Regions from separate parts of the Homo sapiens genome. Here regions 1, 3, 4, 5, 6 and 7 are each linked to region 2. The links are contacts of gene promoters, found by promoter capture Hi-C in blood cells and fetal thymus (Javierre and others, 2016). All regions are on one chromosome and are shown on one strand. The core of a region is centred on a gene start or on the middle of the fragment in contact, and the rest is flanking DNA. Distances in the headings are between cores, read along the strand shown.

What was found. The method cuts DNA at HindIII sites, captures the fragments that hold promoters and counts their contacts. A CHiCAGO score of 5 or more calls a contact.
Region 1: a fragment that was not itself captured here is called in contact with the fragment with the promoter of SNX14 in region 2 in 2 of 17 cell types (naive CD8 T cells and M0 macrophages); the score reaches 5.6 in naive CD8 T cells.
Region 3: a contact is called between a fragment that was not itself captured here and the fragment with the promoter of SNX14 in region 2, in 1 of 17 cell types (monocytes). The highest score is 5.5, in monocytes.
Region 4: a fragment that was not itself captured here is called in contact with the fragment with the promoter of SNX14 in region 2 in 5 of 17 cell types (total B cells, naive CD8 T cells, total CD8 T cells and 2 more); the score reaches 7.7 in total B cells.
Region 5: a fragment that was not itself captured here is called in contact with the fragment with the promoter of SNX14 in region 2 in 2 of 17 cell types (activated CD4 T cells and monocytes); the score reaches 8.9 in activated CD4 T cells.
Region 6: a contact is called between a fragment that was not itself captured here and the fragment with the promoter of SNX14 in region 2, in 3 of 17 cell types (naive CD8 T cells, activated CD4 T cells and naive CD4 T cells). The highest score is 7.9, in naive CD8 T cells.
Region 7: a contact is called between a fragment that was not itself captured here and the fragment with the promoter of SNX14 in region 2, in 6 of 17 cell types (non-activated CD4 T cells, activated CD4 T cells, M2 macrophages and 3 more). The highest score is 12.1, in non-activated CD4 T cells.

The regions. Positions count from the first base shown.
Region 1 is chr6:87,512,592-87,515,291 of GRCh38, forward strand. RARS2 (arginyl-tRNA synthetase 2, mitochondrial) reads right to left here. Exons shown (of 20, transcript NM_020320.5): 19 at 2,366-2,429; 20 at 1,347-1,908. The coding sequence ends at 1,822. Among named protein-coding and RNA genes, the nearest start is that of SLC35A1, 41 kb to the left of the region's middle. The HindIII fragment of the contact is 2,274 bases long and covers 314-2,587 here.
Region 2 is chr6:85,592,469-85,595,323 of GRCh38, forward strand. It overlaps SNX14 (sorting nexin 14), which reads right to left and starts at 1,390. Exons shown (of 29, transcript NM_153816.6): 1 at 1,111-1,390. The coding sequence starts at 1,250. RefSeq lists enhancers at 1-466, 467-1,050, 1,051-1,634, 1,083-1,252, 1,563-1,682 and a silencer at 1,313-1,532. The HindIII fragment of the contact is 2,215 bases long and covers 653-2,855 here.
Region 3 is chr6:87,462,250-87,464,949 of GRCh38, forward strand. It overlaps CFAP206 (cilia and flagella associated protein 206), which reads left to right. Exons shown (of 13, transcript NM_001031743.3): 13 at 1,771-2,216. The coding sequence ends at 2,001. Among named protein-coding and RNA genes, the nearest start is that of SLC35A1, 9.4 kb to the right of the region's middle. The HindIII fragment of the contact is 3,443 bases long and covers 1-2,700 here.
Region 4 is chr6:87,411,137-87,413,928 of GRCh38, forward strand. It overlaps CFAP206 (cilia and flagella associated protein 206), which reads left to right. Exons shown (of 13, transcript NM_001031743.3): 4 at 2,674-2,764. Among named protein-coding and RNA genes, the nearest start is that of CFAP206, 4.6 kb to the left of the region's middle. The HindIII fragment of the contact is 1,103 bases long and covers 814-1,916 here.
Region 5 is chr6:87,535,831-87,538,530 of GRCh38, forward strand. All of the region lies in intron 8 of RARS2 (arginyl-tRNA synthetase 2, mitochondrial), which reads right to left. Among named protein-coding and RNA genes, the nearest start is that of RARS2, 53 kb to the right of the region's middle. The HindIII fragment of the contact is 1,001 bases long and covers 884-1,884 here.
Region 6 is chr6:87,585,140-87,587,839 of GRCh38, forward strand. All of the region lies in intron 1 of RARS2 (arginyl-tRNA synthetase 2, mitochondrial), which reads right to left. Among named protein-coding and RNA genes, the nearest start is that of RARS2, 3.5 kb to the right of the region's middle. The HindIII fragment of the contact is 2,536 bases long and covers 167-2,700 here.
Region 7 is chr6:87,485,396-87,488,095 of GRCh38, forward strand. The region is part of intron 2 of SLC35A1 (solute carrier family 35 member A1); the gene reads left to right. Among named protein-coding and RNA genes, the nearest start is that of SLC35A1, 14 kb to the left of the region's middle. The HindIII fragment of the contact is 1,494 bases long and covers 697-2,190 here.

The DNA of each region.
Region 1 (2,700 bases), core at 201-2,700, 1.9 Mb after region 2:
GGCTTTACCTATTACTGTTCCTGTATGGTTTCACTCACGATTCAAATACTCGGGAAGACACTACTGATCTTGGAAGGGGAAAGTTTCTTCAAACAAGTAGAGAGGGATATTGGATGTGTAAAACATGTCCCTACTTTATATTTTTATCCCATGGCTGGTTTATGCTAAGAAAAATGTGACACTACTTTAAGTCGAAAATTAGCTATCTGGGAGCTAATTCACTTAAATTGGAACTGCAAGGCTGAATCTTTTCTAGGACTAAGAAGGTAAGCCATAGTTGCTAATATGAAACAATTTTCACTCTAACTAGAGAAGCTTCAGTTGTGCTAACTTGGTAAATAGACCGTCACTGGTATTCAAAAGCCTACTATTAGCAACATTTAGAATAAATTATAGCAGACCTGAATGGAAATGCTGGCTGATGGGAATGGCCGTACTGATCAAACACATCACATCCTACTCTTGTTTCCTAAGCCATGCTCATGTTATCTAATGAAGCCACACAAAAATATGAAGATAGATACATGAAGGAAACCATAAGAAACTCCATTTCAAATTATGGTTGAATTAATGGACTACATTTTACAAAAAGATCCTAATTCAACGTCTTTACAAGTAATTCCTTCCTATTAAAATGTATTTAGTTCCTGAATTCACACAATAAGAGTTACCTGTGTGTGTGTGTGTATATATATATATATATATATATATATTTTTTATTTATTTTTTTTGAGACAGAATCTCGCCCTGTCGCTCAGGCTGGAGTGCAGTGGTGCGATCTCGGCTCACTGCAAGTTCCGCCTCCTGGGTTCACGCCATTCTCCTGCCTTAGCCTCCCGAGTAACTGGGACTACAGGCCCCGCCACCACGCCTGGCTACTTTTTTTGTATTTTTAGTAGATACGGGGTTTCACCGTGTTAGCCAGGATGGTCTCGATCTACTGATCTCGTGATTTGCCCGCCGCAGCCTCCCAAAGTGCTGGGATTATAGGCATGAGCCACCACGCCCAGCCCTGTATATATTAACTCAAAGGGAAGCACGAGGTCTATTGTCTCTAGGAGTAGCTGTCAGCTATATTGACAGAACGGTGCTTATTTTTGATCTCCCTATGTTTACTCCAAACTAGCCACAATTACAAGAAAATTGATAATATTTTCCCCTCACCAATTCTTTTATTTCATGAAAACATTAAATCATTTCAGTTATAAGAATAGTTTCTGGAAGAATGACATGGTAAGAAACTTCAAGCCAAAGTTTAAACTCAAATCCTTTAGCCCCATTAGACCACAATGCTTTGGGTTTAAAAAACTCAATGTCTATTTAAATACCTACTGACCATGAGAGAATTCAGATAACTCATTTATTTAAGGATAAAGACTGAATAACTTGACAAGTCACATTTAATACAGATTCTGACACAGAATAATAGTTTAACTTTGGCTGGGCGTGGTGGTTCATGCCTCTAATCCCAACACTTTGGGAGGCCAAGGCAGACAGATAACCTGAGGTCGGGAGTGCAAGACCAGCCTGACCAACATAGAGAAACCCTGTCTCTACTAAAAATACAAAATTAGCCTGGCGTGATGGCACGTGCCTGTAATCCCAGCTACTCAGGAGGCTGAGGCAGGAGAATTGCTTGAACCTGGGAGGTGGAGGTTGCAGTGAGCCAACATCACACCATTGCACTCCAGCCTGGGCAACAAGAGCGAAACTCCATCTCAAAAAAAAAAAAAAAAAATTTAAATTTATTCTGAACAGCAAGGCATCTCAGAATAGATAACTAGAATTCACTTGACATTTTAAAAGCCATTTTAATGGAAATTACATCCTACATACAGGTGTTATTCCAAGAAGTTTCATTCCATTGGCTAGGACAGAACGGACAGCTTTGAAAAGATGAAGTCTGGCCTACAAAATAAATCAAAGAATGATTTAAAATATTCAGTAACAGGAATGTATTCAATACATGAGAATGGTTTTAAAGGTTATTCTTTCTAGTTTAAAGCAGGAACAATATGTCAAAGTGCCCTAGAGTTACTATAGGCAAGAGAAGATAAATTCCTGGCATCCCTTACAGTAAAACCTGTACATAAAGTGTCATGGAGTGGGAGTGATAGTATTATACAGTATGGCTTCAGATAAGGGGAACTTATCACTGTAATATTTCATGTAGGAAAATGTGCTTTATAGTCTAGTATGTTGGGAAGTATATACACATTGATTGTTACAGCCTAATTATTAGCTAAGGAAGTATACTGCTACAGTTGAACAACAGAATGCTATTTTAGAAAAATTTACAAGACTGACTTAGTAATATTAGTCTCAGGAGCTAGGGATTATACAGAAAACATTCAACATAACGTACCCCAGCCACTTCAGGAGGACTATCTTTTATTTGTAGTGTTTTGTGTGCCACAGCTGCAAGATGACTGAAACAGGAAGAGAGAAATCACGATAGTACCAGCAGTAATTTCCTGTTGTAAGATATGAGCTTGATATCTAATCTTACTCCTTCAACTTAATAAAGCCCAGAACCATTAAAGGATGTATTCAAAATTGTGAAGTTGAAACTGGAATTCAAAACTCAAGCTTTAGATCTTGGCCCTATTCTACTACTAAGAGGTGGGCAATTCTTAAGATTATGATTTCGCAGGGCGCAGTGGCTCACGCCTGTAATCCCAGCACTTTGGGAGGCCGAGG
Region 2 (2,855 bases), core at 140-2,639:
GATTTCTTTCCACCAAAAGCAAATCTGGTGTTAATTTTAATGGAAAAGTCTCCTCTACTACCTATTGCATCGCAACAATTTCTTGAAATAGTAAAATGAAGTAAAACAAGTTTATTTCGGGGGCAGAATCTTCTGATTTCAAAATGTCAATTGAATTTATCAATTTTAACCTTTCGGAATATTTCAGGTTTTTTTGGGGAGGGTGGCATCAAGTCCTCTTAAGAATATTATAGGGATGTGGCCGGGTGCGGTGGCTCACGCCTGTAATCCCAGCACTTCGGGAGGCCGAGGCAGGCGGCTCACGAGGTCAGGAGATCGAGACCATCCTGGCTAAAACGGTGAAACCCCGTCTCTACTAAAAAAAAAAAAAAAAAATACAAAAAAATTAGCGTGGTAGCGTGGTGGCGTGGTGGCGGGCGCCTGTAGCCCCAGCTACTCGGGAGGCTGAGGCAGGAGAATGGCGTGAACCCGGGAGGAGGAGCTTGCGGTGAGCCGAGACCGCACCACTGCACTCCAGCCTGGGTGACAGAGCGAGACTCCGTCTCAAAAATAAAAAATTCTAAGGATGTTGGGACGGGTACCACTTTGCTTTCTGATTTCTGTCCAACAAATCTTTATGATCGTCTGTTTTATTCAACAATACTGCGGGAAAAGCTTCAGCTGCAAGCTGAGGGGGTGGGAGGTGGGGAGATGGAAGAACGCGCTGCAGGTGTGCGGATTCTGCCTAAAATTGCGGCTACGAACTGGACCTTGAACACTCCTCCGTCAGCTGACTTGACTGCCTGTGTACAGTCTCAATTTGAGCCGACACACGGATTTCACTTTTGAAAAGCAACGAAGATGAAGAACTCGTTTTGAGAAATGGATGAGAAAAAGGTAGCTCAGGAGACGAAGCCTCGGGAAAGGAGGCAATCAACCCCACCCCACCGGCCTGTGCTTCCGGCCTCGACGCTCCGCCGTGCTCCCCGAGGCCGCTCCTCTGCGGAGCTCGCTCTCCCCACTGGTCCCCAGTCCCGCAGCTACGCGGCCTCCGCACGGTTAAGCAGCACGGGCCGGGCGTCTGCACCTTCGGAGAAAAGCCGCCGCCCAGGCTCCGCGCTGCGGCGTTACCTGTTAAGAAGCAGGGAGGCGGCGCTGAGACAGAGCAGCAGGAAGCAGAACAGCGGGTACTGGCGGCAGATCTCGCGTCCCACGTCCAGTCGCAGCCGCTGCTTCAGCTTCTGCCCCATCGTCCGCACCCAGGGCACCATCTCCGTAACGGCGAGGCCGAGACTGCGCTACTGGCTGAGGCAGAGGTCAAGGCGACCCCCCATCCACACCTCGCGTCCCCGCCCCACCGACTTGGCGGCGCACACAGACGCCTACCGGCAGTTAGCCGCCGCAGGCTGAGGTCGCGTCCGGCTGGGCCCAGCCCCACGCCCCCCGCCGCGCGTGCGCGGCCGCGGTCCCCAGCCGACCAGAGGAACGGCCGTAGAACGTGCCCGAAGTCGTCACCCAGCGCAAAGCCTCTAGCGTCTCGCCGCTCCGCCCTCCTGGCCGGAGTAGCGCGCAGTCTTCCGTGGAAACTCTGACAACACTGGCGACCGGCCATTTCCGGAAATCAAAGGACAGCCCCAGCACCCAGTAACTGCCTGTATTGCGGAGGAGAGGGAAGAAGGTTGTAGGGAGCCCGGAAGAAACTACAGCACCCCCGTAGCCGCCGGGCGCTGCCTGAGGGGCAACCGGAGCTCGTGGAGCCCGCTGGGAACTGTAGTCTTCGTGACACGAACCCGCAGAGGGATGGAGCGGGTGGTAGCGCTTCCCCGACCCCGCAACGCTCCGCGCCTCACCGTACACTCGGCTCCGGGTGGGAGCAGGTCCGAGCTTTGCGTGACGCCTAAGGGAGAGGGGGATAGGAGGACGCCTTTGAGTCGGTATTTTAAAAGGGGTGTGTTGGGGGCTGGGGGGGTGGCGAGTAAAACAGCCCTAGAATAAAGACTACAACTCATCAGGCCGCCACCCCACCAACAAAATCTCTTTTGCGCGCTCACGGGCAAGGGTAGAGCTCAATTCACGCCGGCTCCGGGAGCCCAACCAAAATCCGAGTGCTTGGAAGAGGCAGGTTGGCAGATTAGGTAAAATCCCTCTTATAGAGTCTCATGGGGTTTTCCCTTTACTAATTCATCACATTTCTAAATTTTTTTTTCTGTATTGTCCGCTACAGTGAGAGATGCAGGAAGACTATTATCGCGAAAATTTACTTAGGCGGTACAGACACTAAGCACTTTCATTTGACCTTCATGCATTCACCCCATGGTGTAGGTACAGTACTATAGTTTCAATCATTATACAGGCAAATTACTGAGACAGAAAGGAACTTAGGATCATAAAACTAACAAAGCCGGAATTTGAACACGTTCTAAAGACAGAGCCTGTGCCTGTCATCTCTCTTTCCTAGGATCTTATCCTTCAAAGTGGGGAAACAAATGTTTTTTAATGATGTATGTAGTTTCATGAATATTTTCCCGTATTACAAAAACATGGATCTTTAATGATGCATTATTATCCTTTATCAGAATGTACCATCCTGTTCCATTATTGCTAACCACTAAAGTCCATTGATATTACCATCCTTGATGATAAACCTATGCACATTTCTAATTATTTAGAATCAACTTTAATACAATTACTGGGTCAAAGGGTAAAAACAAACATTCTTGATACAGTCAAACTGCTTTGTAGAATGGTGGTACCAACTCCACAGTGGTGTATAAAAGTAAACAATTTCACTGATCCTCACGATTAGCTATTATTGTCTAAACATCACAAATACACTTTTCTGTTTGTGACTAAACCATTTAAAAGACTACAGTGTA
Region 3 (2,700 bases), core at 130-2,629, 1.9 Mb after region 2:
CCCACTGACCACATTATTTCCTTTGCTACTCACTCTGGTGGCAGCTTTTCAGTTCCCTGGCATGAGGAAGGATCAGTTTCCCCATATATCTTCCAGATCATTGTTCCATTAGTATTCCTTCCTATCAGTTACTCTCCTGTAGTTCATGAAATGCCCAACCCCCATATTATTTTCTATTATCTACTAAACTCACTTGAGTTCATTAGATTTATTGGGTAACATATATATCCCACTACTTTGTTCTAGCAAGTGATACTGTTACATTAAAAATATTTCAGTACCTCCTTGTAAGTGGTACCTCCTTGTAAGTGGTGTAACAGAAGTGAAATGAAAATTCTACTAAATTAACATAGGTGATATTTTATGTTGCTTTTGAGATACAAATAGGCAAAGAGGAGGAGGGAAGTGATGGCTGGATAGGATAGGAGAGATAGAGGTGACAGCATAGGTATGGACTGGAAATGTTAAGAGAATGGGGTATTCAGGGGTCTGAACTTCATACTGACTGAGCCCTCTCTTCCCATTCCTCAATCTCCACTTAATTCTGACTCTCACCTTGGGCCTTATTATTCCCTAGAACTGTATTATATTGAATGCCAGCTCCCCAAGTGTCACCTACCTAACCTGTGGATAAGACAAAGCTGAGTTTATTGCTTACAGCCATAAGGGAAAACACCACCTCAACAGTGCTTTGGCAGTGTCTCAGAAGAGGAACTGCAAAGTCAGAATTGATTGAGAATTTGAAGTTTGCTAAGGCAGGTCTTCCAATGACTGAGGTGGACTGGGGGTAGGATGGAGGTTTGAATCGGATTGGGTAAGGATCATGAAAAAGCAGTCCAGCATTGGTGGGAATAGCAAGAAGATTTTTTGAGGCAAGGGATGCAGACTCTTAGGACTGAAACTGTGTTTTGATGCTTACTACTGAAGAGTTGACACATCTCTCAGGTACTACTGAAATGAGCAATCAAGTTATTTGCTTAGGCAAGAGTCTCTTGGAATGGTAAAATCATGCTAATGAAGACAATGGAATAGTAAAGTCATATTAATGTGGACAATAACCTGGGTATTGGGGAGTAGTTTCGGTTCTCAGTCACCTGCAGTATCTCAAACTCTGAAATGTTTCCTCTAATTCCAGGTGTCACCTTCTTCACTCACATGCTATAATGCCTTTTGAGTTTTTTCTTGGCTTTTACTATAAGTGCAGCAACCTTATTCTTCTTTTTATAAGCTCCTCCTTGCTTCCCAGCCTGAGTAATCTGTTTAACCTCATGTTTACTAATAATCTATAAAGGGAGTAAGCAAAATGTAGAATACTGTAAAATACAAAATGGAAAGCATCAGACTCTTTTATGTTAAAAATCTAGGGTGAAGTCCATTTTTAAAAGATAATACTGTATAAATCTTATATTTTTGTTAAAAGAAAACAAGTATAGTGGAAAAATCCAAGTTATATGAATCTCAAAGTATAATAATGAAGGAATTAGATTATATTAATAAATAACTGGTTGAGTTCACTGTAATTTTGAATCTGTATGTTTTTTGAGGTCAATTTTCAACATTTTACATATTTTTCTACGTCTTGGTAAGGGATATTTAATTTTCTATTATGTTCTAGATTTTCCAATGTTTTATAGAAAAAATGCTATGTTATGGAATTAATTTCTTGTGGATTGAAGACAAAAATAGGCAGATATTAACTGGTATCTGATAATATTTTATGTTATTTGTTCTTTAGAGAAATGTTAATTCCTGTATTCTCTTTCTCTTTAGGCTAATTTGCGCCAGAAAGTTACTCACTCAGTACAAACTGATCTTAGTCACTTGAGAAGAGAAAATTGTTCCCAAGTGTACCCTCCAAAGGACACTAGCACCCAGTCCATGAGGGAAGACAGCACTGGGGTGCCCAGGCCTCAGATTTACTTGGCTGGTCTTCGTGGAGGAAAGAGCGAAATCACCGATGAGGTCAAGGTGAACTTAACTAGAGATGTGGATGAAACCTAATTACAGACAACGTTTTAAAATAGATGCTACTCAATTATGAACAATAGCAAGTACTTAAAGGTATATTAACATCTATACAAATTAATTTTGTAGGGGTGGCACATTCATTGGTTGTGTGACTGTTTATTGGGTTCCCATATTTTATCAAACTGTTTTCTGTAACACATTTTTCATTCTGTTGAAATTGAAAAATAAAACTGTCCATTTATCTTTTATTTGTTAGAAAAATTTGTCAGCATTAAGATTGAAATTATGATAACATTTAGATATAAATATAAGATTATTACTGGAATAGAAGTCTATTTCTAAACCATATTTAATGTTAAACGTTACAAACTTAAAACCTAATCAATATTTTCAGCTCTGTTAGCTATTAAATGTTAACATGGATTAAACTGATATGTAACAAAACCTTACTAATTTGGAACAATTGGAGCAAAGGTCCACATGATGTTTTTTTCTTTCTTTTTTTTTTTTTTTTTTTTTTGAGACAGGGTTTTGCTCTGTCACCTAGGCTGGAATGTAGTGGTACAATCACAGCTCACTGCAGCCTCGACCTCCTGGGCTAAAGCAATCCTACCTTAGCCTCCTGAGTAGCTGGGACCACAGGCGTGTGTTACCACACCTGACTAATTTTTAAAACAATTTTCTGTAGAGACAGAGTTTCACCATATTCCCCTGGCGGGTCTGGAACTCCTG
Region 4 (2,792 bases), core at 115-2,614, 1.8 Mb after region 2:
AGGGCAGGGAAATTGGGCAGGTAGCAGCATCTGCTACAGTATTTTAGTGAAACCTTGTTACTAATGTCTTACATTGCAAACATTAACTAGTTCGTCATATACTGTGAAGTTAAATAGAACTAAATTAATTTGCATTTCTCTAATGCTGAGTGATGTTGAGCATTTTTTTCATGCTTTTTGGCGATTTGTATGTCTTCTTTTGAAAAATATCTATTCATGGCCTTTGCCCACTTTATAATGGGGTTATTTGTTGTTGTCGAGTTGTTTGAGTTCCTCGTAGATCCTGAATATTAGTCCTTTGTCAGATGCATAGTTTGTACATATTTTCTCCCATTCTGCAGGCTGTCTTTTCACTCTGTTGATTATTCATTTTGATGTGTAGAAGCTTTTTAGTTTATTTAAATCCAATTTGTCTATTTCTGTTGCATTTACTTTTAAGTCATGAATTCTTTGCGTAGGCCAATGCCCAGCCCCCTAGGTTTTTTTCTGTTATTTTTATAGTTTCAGGTCTTACATTTAAGTCTTTAATCAATCTTGAGTTGTTAATTTTTGTATATGGTGAGACATTGGGATGGGTTTCATTCTTCTGCATATGGTAATCCAATTTTCCCAGCACCATTTATTGAATAGGATGTCATTTCTCCAGTGTATGTTTCTGTTGACTTTGTCAAAGATCACCTGACTGCAGGTATGTGGCTTTGTGTCTGGATTTTCTATTCTGACAATGAGATACAATCTTACACCAGTTAGAATATCTTTAAAAAGTAAAAACATAACAGATATTGGTGAGGATGCAGAGAAAAGATGGTATAAAGCTTGTTCTTAGCAATAGGGGAAGTGATTGTGGCAGTCAGAAATTTTATTGGAAAGCCGTGGAAGAGAATCCAGGAGGGGCAGAAAATAAGTTGTTCTCCTTGTCATGACCCAAGAAGAGTTTTCCATTCCCCCCAATTCCCCAACTCAACTAAGTTGGAAAGAATCAAGCCAATATACTTTTAGTACGACAGGTACATAAACTAACAACATATGTTATATTCAAGTGACAATTTTTTTCTCAACTAAAAATCATGTGGATGAGCTATTTTTTTAAGTGTGCATTTTAGAACAGTACTTCTGTATGTGGAGGGATCCAGGTGCACAGGCTTCTGCAAAGACATAGTGTCCAATCCTCAGTCTTGCATTCTCCCCTCCCTCCTCCCAGGAAAGCAGGGCTGGTGCTCAGGGAGATGGGTTGAGAGTGATGCTGCCAAGTGCCTGCCAGCTGCAGTATATTCAGCCTACAGAGTGAGCAGTGAAGGAAGTGGGGGAGGGAGGTGACCAGTAGAGATGAGAGAAGGAAAGAAAAACTGAGGTTGATATTCAATATAAAGAGGCAAGGCAGAGAAGGGGAATGAGCCATCTATGTGGGGGCTCATAGGAGAAAACAGACCAGGAGAAGAAATATCAAGGGTAGAACCAGAGAAATTTTGTGAAGAGAGGGGGGTGGTTGCAGCAGCTTTTTAATTTTAATTTAATTTAATTTAATTATATTTTATTTTTTGAGACAGAGTCTCGCTCTGTCCCCCAAGCTGGGGTGCGGTGGCATGATCTTGGCTCATTGCCATGTCCACCTCCCGGGTTCTCAAGCGATTCTCCTGTCTCAGCCTCCCGAGTAGCTGGGACTACAGGTGTGTGCCACCATGCCTGGCTAATTGTTGTATTTTTAGTAGAGACGGGTTTCACCATGTTGACCAGGCTGGTCTCGAACTCCTGACATCGGGTGATCTGCCCACCTCTGCCTCCCAAAATGCTGGGATTACGGGTGTGAGCCACTGCACCAGCTGCAGCAGCTTTTTATAAAATAAAATGAGGAGTGTTGTTCAAGGCACAAATAAATAGTAATGAGGAACTCTAGAAGAGTTTTAGACTGGAATATAAGCTTTGTGGAACATTTACCCACATTTAGACTGCTCAAACTAACCAAAACATCAGGTTTCTTGCCTTCAACTAGACTACTAGCCACCTGGCATGATGATTATTGGTTAACTCAAGGGAAATAACTTATTACTTAACAAATGTTATTGGTAGTAAAGATATGGAATCAACCTAAGTGTCCATCAACAGATGATTGGATAAAGAAAATGTATACACACATACACACAATGGAGTTTTATTGAGCCATAAAAAATAATGAAATCATGTCTTGTGGCAACATGGATGGAACTGGAGGCTACTATCTTAAGTGAAATAACTCAGAAAGTAAAATACCACATGTTCTCACTTATAAGTGGGAGCTCAATAATATGTACCCAGGGACATAGAGAGTGGAACAGTAGACATTGAAGACTTGGGAGGGTGAGAGGGGAGCGAGGGATAAGAAATCACTTAATGGGTACAATGTCCACTATTCAGGTGTTAGCTACCCTAAAAGCCCAGGCTTCACCACTACACGCAATATATCCATGTAACAAAATGACACTTGTACCCCCTAAATCTATAAAAATAAAAAAAGTTATTGGTTAAATAAACTATAAAGCCTGAAGTCCTCAAGGAGAAAAAAAAAATAAAAGGGGTTATTGGTGAATCAATATCAGGAACCACTGCTTTTCCCTTTATTTTTGAAAATAACTTTAGGAAATACTTGACTGTCTCAAAAACTATAACTAGAAGTATTCATGGGACATTCTTTTCTAGCTTTGTATGACTCGGCTATTGGATACTAAAAATCCATCCCTGGACACTATTAAGATGCAAGTCTACTTCGATATGAATTATACGAATCGAGGTAATGTATACTACCTATTTTTATACTT
Region 5 (2,700 bases), core at 134-2,633, 1.9 Mb after region 2:
CATGCCCAGCTAATTATTTGTATTTTTTTTTTTAAGTAGAGATGCAGTTTTGCCACGTTGCTGAGGCTGGTCTCAAACTTTTGAGCTCAGGCAATCCACCTGCCTCAGCCTCCCAAAGTGCTAGGATTGCAGGTGTGAGCCACTGCACCTGGCCTATGTAACCTTTTTTAATGTCAGTGCTAGGATACAGGCTAATCCATATTTTATTGGCATGATATTTATCTCTTATAAGAGGCTGCCCTTACATTTCATAAGAATGGCTATGGTTACAAAAGCCATATTAATAGGCAATATGCAATGAGTCAAGTTCTATTAATAAAACCTTCTATAGCAAAAAAAAAGGTTAATATGCTTAGAGATACTGTTAGATAATAAAGTCTATTCAAATAATTTAAATCTAAAAGGAAGCCTGATAAGTTACCTTTAAAAGTATTATTTAAATAGGTAAAAGTAAATGATGACACCCTCATATCCATGATTCAGATTTAACACTTGTTAACTTTTACCATAAGAAATTACTTTTTGCCTGGGCGTGGTGGCTCACACCTGTAATCCCAGCATTTTGTGAGGCCAAGGTGGGCGGATCACAAGGTCAGGAGTTTGAGACCAGCCTGGCCAACATGGTGAAACCCCGTCTCTAGCAAAAATACAAAAAAATTAGCTGGGCGTGGTAGTGCACACCTGTAATCCCAGCTACTCAGGAGGCTGAGGCAGGAGAATCATTTGAACCCGGGAGGCAGAGGTTGCAGTGAGCTGAGATCACGCCACTGCACTCCAGCCTGGGCAACAGGGCAAGACCCCATCACGAAAAAAAAAAAAAGAAAGAAAAAAAAAGAAATTACTTTTCAATATAAGTGGAAAGGCTTTTTGATATATTGTCTAAAGCTTATTGCAAATGTTTTCCTGAATCACTAATGTGAATTCTAAATAAAAAAAATATATTAGTTATTTAACAGCCAATTCACAAGGGAAGAGGAACTATAACAAAACTACTTCCCTGTTTTGTAACCAAAAAAACCAAATTAGAATAATTAAAGAAAAAGTTTCAAATGCTTGCCAACAAAATCCTAGGTCCCACGTACAAAACAGCTAGATGTCATGGGAAAAGAATGCTATAAGGTACAGAGAAAAACCACTAGTGAAGCATATGCACCAAAATGGAAATGCAATAAATGACTGTGGGTGTTAAATATTTTCATCAAAGAAATTCTGAAACTATCATACAATATCATTTCCAAGCTAGCTGAGAAACTGAATATACTAATACTGATTATAGTGCAATTTAGAGAATACTGATCATAGTTCAATTTAGAGGAAGGCAGGCCATAAAATCTGCTACTGGATGGCCTATGCCAAATTCAAAACAAATATGCCAGAAGGTTGAAAGTGCCAAAACTAAACTACTAATTGTGTCCCTGGTATAGCAACTCAAGGGATGAAAGAAAGGAAAATTCTATGTACATAATTAAACCAATGGAAATCAATGGTTCATAAAGCCATTCTATAGTGGGGGTGTGGGGACATTCACTGCATAGAGCACTCAGGAGCCAGACTACCTGTGCCGGAATCCTGGGTTTGGCCTGTGGTTTCCTCTGCAGTAAACTATGTTAACAAAGTAAGTTAAATTCTGACAAATGGTAATTAGTGTATCCTATAATAGTTACTTATTTCCTGGACAAACAATACATTTTATATTCCACAAATTATATATAATTAGAAAAGGGGGCAAAAGAGAACTATAAAAGCAAATTCATTCAGGCATTTACTGCAAGCCATAATATTTAGGGTTGTGGATAAGGAAGGTAAGGAAGACATGGTCCTTCCTCTCAAAGAGCTCACTACTAACTACAACTTGATATGGAAAAAAAACAAGGGTTCCATCAAAGCTTTGAGAAAACAGATTTTCACAAATAAGAAAGAGTAAATGCAGATTATCTTAAAGTTTTCCTTCGAATAAATCAGCCAACATTATTTACCAATACACCAAGCACTTTCCAAGCATAGAATCACGATCTCTGACTTTCTGGTCACCTTTCTGGTGACCAGAAATAACGATGGGGCAGAGTCTCTGTATTACCACCTACGCTATTTGTGACATTGCAGGGCAAGCAAAGGCATCTTTCAATTATTAAATAAATTGAGTTGTTGACATTCAGATTTTCTTTTAGAAACAGAATAACATCAACATTTGCTTAAAGCTCAAAAAAATTCCTCATTTATGCTAACAGTTGTTTTTGAAAGTAATCCAAAGTGACAAATGTAATTTTAAAATGAAAACAGAGTCTATAAAATTTGCATATATAATAACCTGTAGGCTGCCATTTTAGGCTTTGCATATTTTCTGTCCTGCAAAAGGAGAAGGAAAAGAGCAACTGAATACTCTAATGGTCTTGTCGTCTATTACAAATAGCAAAGTGGGTGTATCTTGCCTTCTTTTGTCTTTAAATGCAGTTTCCCAGTGAATCTATTCGGCAAAAGAACACTAATGAAAGCAACACCATTATTATTCGACTTTTTAGTTATTCACAGAAGTACCTTATTGCCCTTATTCCTTCCATATGTGTACCCATCAGTAAATAACCTCTAACATAGATGTTGATCTTCCACTATTTTTGAGTCTCTAAAGGCAGGAAATTATATTAAACTGCATAGAAAGAAATATATTCTTAGGTTTCTGTGGAGTTTGAAGACAGATTCCCC
Region 6 (2,700 bases), core at 185-2,684, 2.0 Mb after region 2:
AGATTTAAAATTATGAACTCATTCAGTGAAGCTGCATATTTTATATGAGATCACAACAGAGATACTCAGGTATTCATTCTTCAAATACACATTAAACACTTATGTTTCGGGCACTTTGCTGGTGCTGAGGAAATAAGAGTGAATAAGACATGTTCTGTCTTCATGAAGCTTATAGAGGAAACAGACACTAAAACAAGTAAAACAAAACAATTACTCTTATTATTGTCATCATAGAAGCAAACAAGGGACTAAGAGAACTAGAGGACACACTTTTCAAATTATAGGTTGCCAGTTAGAAATAAATTCCTTTGCCTGGCGCGGTGGCTCACGCCTGTAATCCCGGCACTTTGGGAGGCTGAGATGGGTGGATCATGAGGTCAGGAGATCGAGACCATCCTGGCTAACACGGTGAAACCCCGTCTCTACTAAAAATACAAAAAAATTTAGCCGGGTGTGGTGGCGGGCACCTGTAGTCCCAGCTACTCGGGAGGCTGAGGTGGGAGAATGGCGTGAACCCAGGAGGCGGAGCTTGCAGTGAGCAGAGATCACGCCATTGCACTCTAGCCCGGACGACTGAGCAAGACTCCATCTCAAAATAAATAAATAAATAAATAAAAATAAAAATAAATTCTGTTGAGTCCCAACCACCAGTCTTAAAAAATACGTATAAAACAGGACAGAATACAGTATAAATAAGTATTGTTTCATGAAACTTTCATCGTGCATAAAGAGTGATAGTATAAAATGCATTTCTTTTAGGCACAAGGAATAATCTACGCAATGGGAATGGAAAGACCCTGCTATGTTAGAAAAACAAATTAACATTGTAGCTAGGTTCCTACAAAAATGATAGAATGGGGCATGAATGGAAGTTGAAGAAGTTAAGGTTCTGGTAGAGACTCGTGCAACAAAGAAAGATAAGTGATATGATTTGATTCACAATTTAGATGTCACCTTTCTTGATACATGGAGAATGAACTGGAGGGAGGGCAAGAATGGAAACAAACACCCCATCAGAAGGCTGTTGTAAGCAGTCAATATAGGTGATAATGGGGGCTTGGTGTGGAATAGAGAAAGGAGAGGGGGAGGCAGCAGCAATAGTGTAGATGGATTCAAGATATAAAGATAAAATCAACAGGACTTGCTGAAGAAAGGAATCCAAATATTGTGATTCTATGTACATATCATGCTTTCCAGATGTCTGTGTCTATGCACATCCTCCTCTTGCAATACCTGACCTCTCCCCAAGCTCTCACTCTATTTACTTGGCACACTCCTACCCATATCCCTTTCAAAACTGAGACCTAACATCACCTTTCTACAAAACTTTGTCTGACCCTTAGGAGCTTTCAAGTTCCCTTGGCACTTTGCACATGCTTCTAATACAGTGATTACAGGCTGCAATGCAATTACCGGTTTACATCGTTTTCCAAGCATGTCTGAGGCCATTTCAGGGCAGAAACTATTTTCCGTTCACTTTTAGCCTTGGGACTGATGACAGTGCTTAGAAAACTGTCGACTAATTAATCAAAGTTAGCTAAATGCATTTGCCATTGCACGTTACACATTCCTTCATTCCTAAACTATTATAGCAAAACGATGCTCATTCGCAAAGGTATTAAATACAGGCTGGGTATCCTTGGGACCACAAGTGTTTCAACTTTTGAATTTTTTCAGATTTTGGAATATTGGCTTTATACTTACCTGTTGAGCATCCCTAAACTGAAAATCTGTGGGGTTGGTTATTTATTTATTTATTTATTTATTTATTTATTTATTTATTTTTTGAGACAGGGTCTTGCTTTACCACCCACGCTGGAGTTCAGTGGCACAATCTTGGCTCATTGCAACCTCCACCTCTCAGGTTCAAGTGATCCTTCCACCTCAGCCTCCCAAGTATCTGGGATTACAGGAGGGTGCCACCATGCCCAACTAATTTTCTAATTAGTTTCCCAGGCTGGTCTTGAACTCTTGGGCTCAAGTGATCTGCCTGTCTCAGTCTCTCCAAGTGCTGGGGTTATAGGCATGAGCCACCATACCCAGCTCCTAATCTGAAAATCTGGAATTCTCCAATGAACATTTCCAATTTCCAATTGAGCTCCAATGAACTCAATGAACATTGAGTCTCATGTCAGCACTCAAAAAGTTTCAAATTTTGGAGCATTTCAGATTTCCAGCTTAGGGATGCTCAAACTGTACGGAACATGTTTTTTCTTTGCTCTTTTTTCCCCATGTCCTAACGTATTGAAAATATTATTATTTATCCTCAAGTTTCAGATCATTCCCCAATGACTCTATATTCAGAGAAATACATATATATCTGCATAATTTACACTGCTGTATAAATCCATTAGATTCTGTTCAATGATTGGACTGTGCTTCTTGCTTTCACAAAGAGCACAGTATATAGGAAAGATCTAATTTTAAAGTTAGAGTTCTGTTCATAAACCAACTCTACAATGTATTGATGATGTGGCTTTGGGTAAGTTATTTAATCTCTGTGGATCTCAACTGACTCAATTATATAATAAGGTTAATACTTCTATATCACAGGGTTGCCATGAGCTTAAATGTGAATGTGTAGTAACTAGCACAAATATATACTCAATATATTAGTTCTTGTTTCTCCAACTTATCTTTTTCTTTTTTTTGAGACAGGGACTCACTTTGTCCCCCAGGCTGAAGTGCAGCGGTGCAATC
Region 7 (2,700 bases), core at 194-2,693, 1.9 Mb after region 2:
TGTGGAAGAATTATATTAGAAATAACTAAAGGTTTAGAACTTGAACTTTCTCTTCAGAGGAGAAAAATTAAGAAGAACTTAGATCTTGGCCAGGTGTGGTGGCTCACACCTGTAATCCCAGCAGTTTAGAGGCCAAGGTAGGAGGATTTCTTGAGCCCAGGAGTTGGAGACCAGCCTGTCAACATGGTGAGACTCCATCTCTACAAAAAATAAAAAAATTAGCTGGGTGTAGTGGTGTGTGGCTGTAGTCACAGCTACCTGGGAGGCTAAGGTGGGAGGATTGCTTGAGCCTGCGAGGACCTGCAGTGAGCCATGATTGTACCACTGTACTCTAGCCTGGGCAACAGAGCAAAACTCTGTCTCAGAAAAAGAAAAAAAAAAATTAGAAGAACTTAGATCCTGATGATTAAAATAGTGTATTTCCCCCATATTTCCAGAAAAATACTGCAGAGTTAGTGTAAAAATTAGTAACATTTGCTCAATGTTGATTTGAGTTTTCTGGAGAATGAATACAGGGAAAGGAAAAGAAATTACTATTTAAATGGAAAAAAATTAAACTTCATTTAAAACTATGATTAAATGAAGTAAAAGCTTCTTCCTTTTTGCCCATTCTTTACACTGTGATAAAGTACAATAACTTTATAGGGTTGATACAAAGTATTATACTAGAACTTCAATTTTTTTGGAACTGTGCAAAGCTTAATCTCATTATAGAGCAGTCCATTTGGTGGTTTGTTTATTTAGTATGGTCTCTGATGCTGTTTGCTCAGTAATGTTCTTTGCTTAGTGAATAGTCTTGGCTAATTGTTAAAGTACATATATTATACGGGAGTGGGAGGTGGGGGCAGAAACTTATCGAAGTAGCACCTGAAACCATGTTTTGGTTATAATTAAGGTTCACTTAGATAATAACATACCACTGCCATATTCAAATCTGTGTTTCATTCCTTCCAAACATTGGAAGCAAATAGTCATTCTAAGTTGTTTCAAGGTATTGTTAATAAGATATAATGGGACAGTCAGGTTCACGCATTCATTTATTTAGTTAGAAAATACCTATCAAACCTCAATTATATACTCAACACTATTCTAGTGTTTTCACTAGAACACTGCAAATTAAAAAGGTGTAGTTCTGCCCTCATGGACTTATAGTCTGTTGGAGAACCAAATATTATAATAAATAATAAATAGGTGATGTTATGAGGGAAAAGTAGAGGGTGCTACAAACATGCATGATAGAGGGCCTGCATTTGGATTAAAGGGTTTCCTCTCTGAGGAAGTTACGTTTAAACCTAGACCTGTCAATTGAGTAGACTTTAGGCAAGAAAAGAGCAGAGAGGAGGCAGAGAACTGCGTGTTTGAAATCCCTGAGGCAGAAAAGTCCTTGACTTTGGTGCTGAGATGAAGCAGGAGAGGTCATCAGGGTATCACAGTAGTAGTATGGACCTGTTAAGGATTTTAGATTTAATCTGAAGTGCATTAGAAAAATCATTGAGTGGAGCCAGGTGCGGTGGCTCACACCTATAATCTCAGCACTTTGGGAGGCTGAGGCAGGTGGATCACTTGAGGTCAGGAGTTCAAGACCAGCCTGGCCAACATGGTAAAACCCCATCTCTACTAAAAATACAAAAATTAGCTGGGCGTGGTGGCACATGCCTGTATTCTAGCTACTTGGGAGGCTGAGGCAGGAGAATTGCTTGAACTTGGGAGGCAGAGGTTGTAGTGAGCTGAGATCACACCACTGCACTCCAGCCTGGGTGACAGAGCAAGACTCCGTCTCAAAAGAAAAAAAAGAAAAAGAAAGTCATTAAATGGTTTAAGTGAGGGACTAACATAGAACCCATGTTGAGAGTCACTTTGACCTCTTTGAGAATGAATTAGAAGTAGGGAAACAATAGAGGCAAGAGATAATCAGCTAGGATGACAGCACAGGTCACGAAGAGAAGTTAATGGATTTGAGTTATGCTCTGGCAGTAGAATCTGTAGGACTTCGTGATGGGTTTGGATAACCTGCTCCTAGGGGATATACAGGGTAGTTTCCTGTGAGCAACTGATCACATTTTTGTCAATTAATCAATACAATAACCTTGTTTTGTGTGTGCTTCAATCTAAAGACACTTTATTTAATGTACATTATTGATTAATTAGCATTGAACTCATGGCCAACAGCACTATAACATGCCTGAACAAAGCTTATCTATCACATGTATTTTCTCCATAATATATAGCATATCCTTCTTATACTTAGGAACATCAGACAGTGCGTCAGCCCTACAATGCTTGGGAGCCATTTAAACAAAATCACCAACACAAAGCACAAAAATGCAAAAAATGTGGTACTGAATAGATTGCACTTGTTTATGATCTGAAAGCGGAAACAAGGCAGAATGTTAACTTGTTCAGCGTCAGCCAGGAATGTGCACACTTGGTGAATCAAATTTTTTGCCACTCTGCACATGTCTGCCAATGACTGCAAGTGTTACCAGCATTGATTTGGGGGTTACAGATACATTTTAATGAGTGGAGAATTCACACGTACAGTCCATGAATAATAATAATCAACTATAGTAGGGGAAGGAAAGGGAGGTATCAGGAAGCATATCTGTGTTTCCTAGTATAAACAATTGGGTAGAGTTATTATTATTTTTGTTTTTTGAAACAGGAAAAACAGATTTGGGGGAAAAAGATATCAACAGTTTG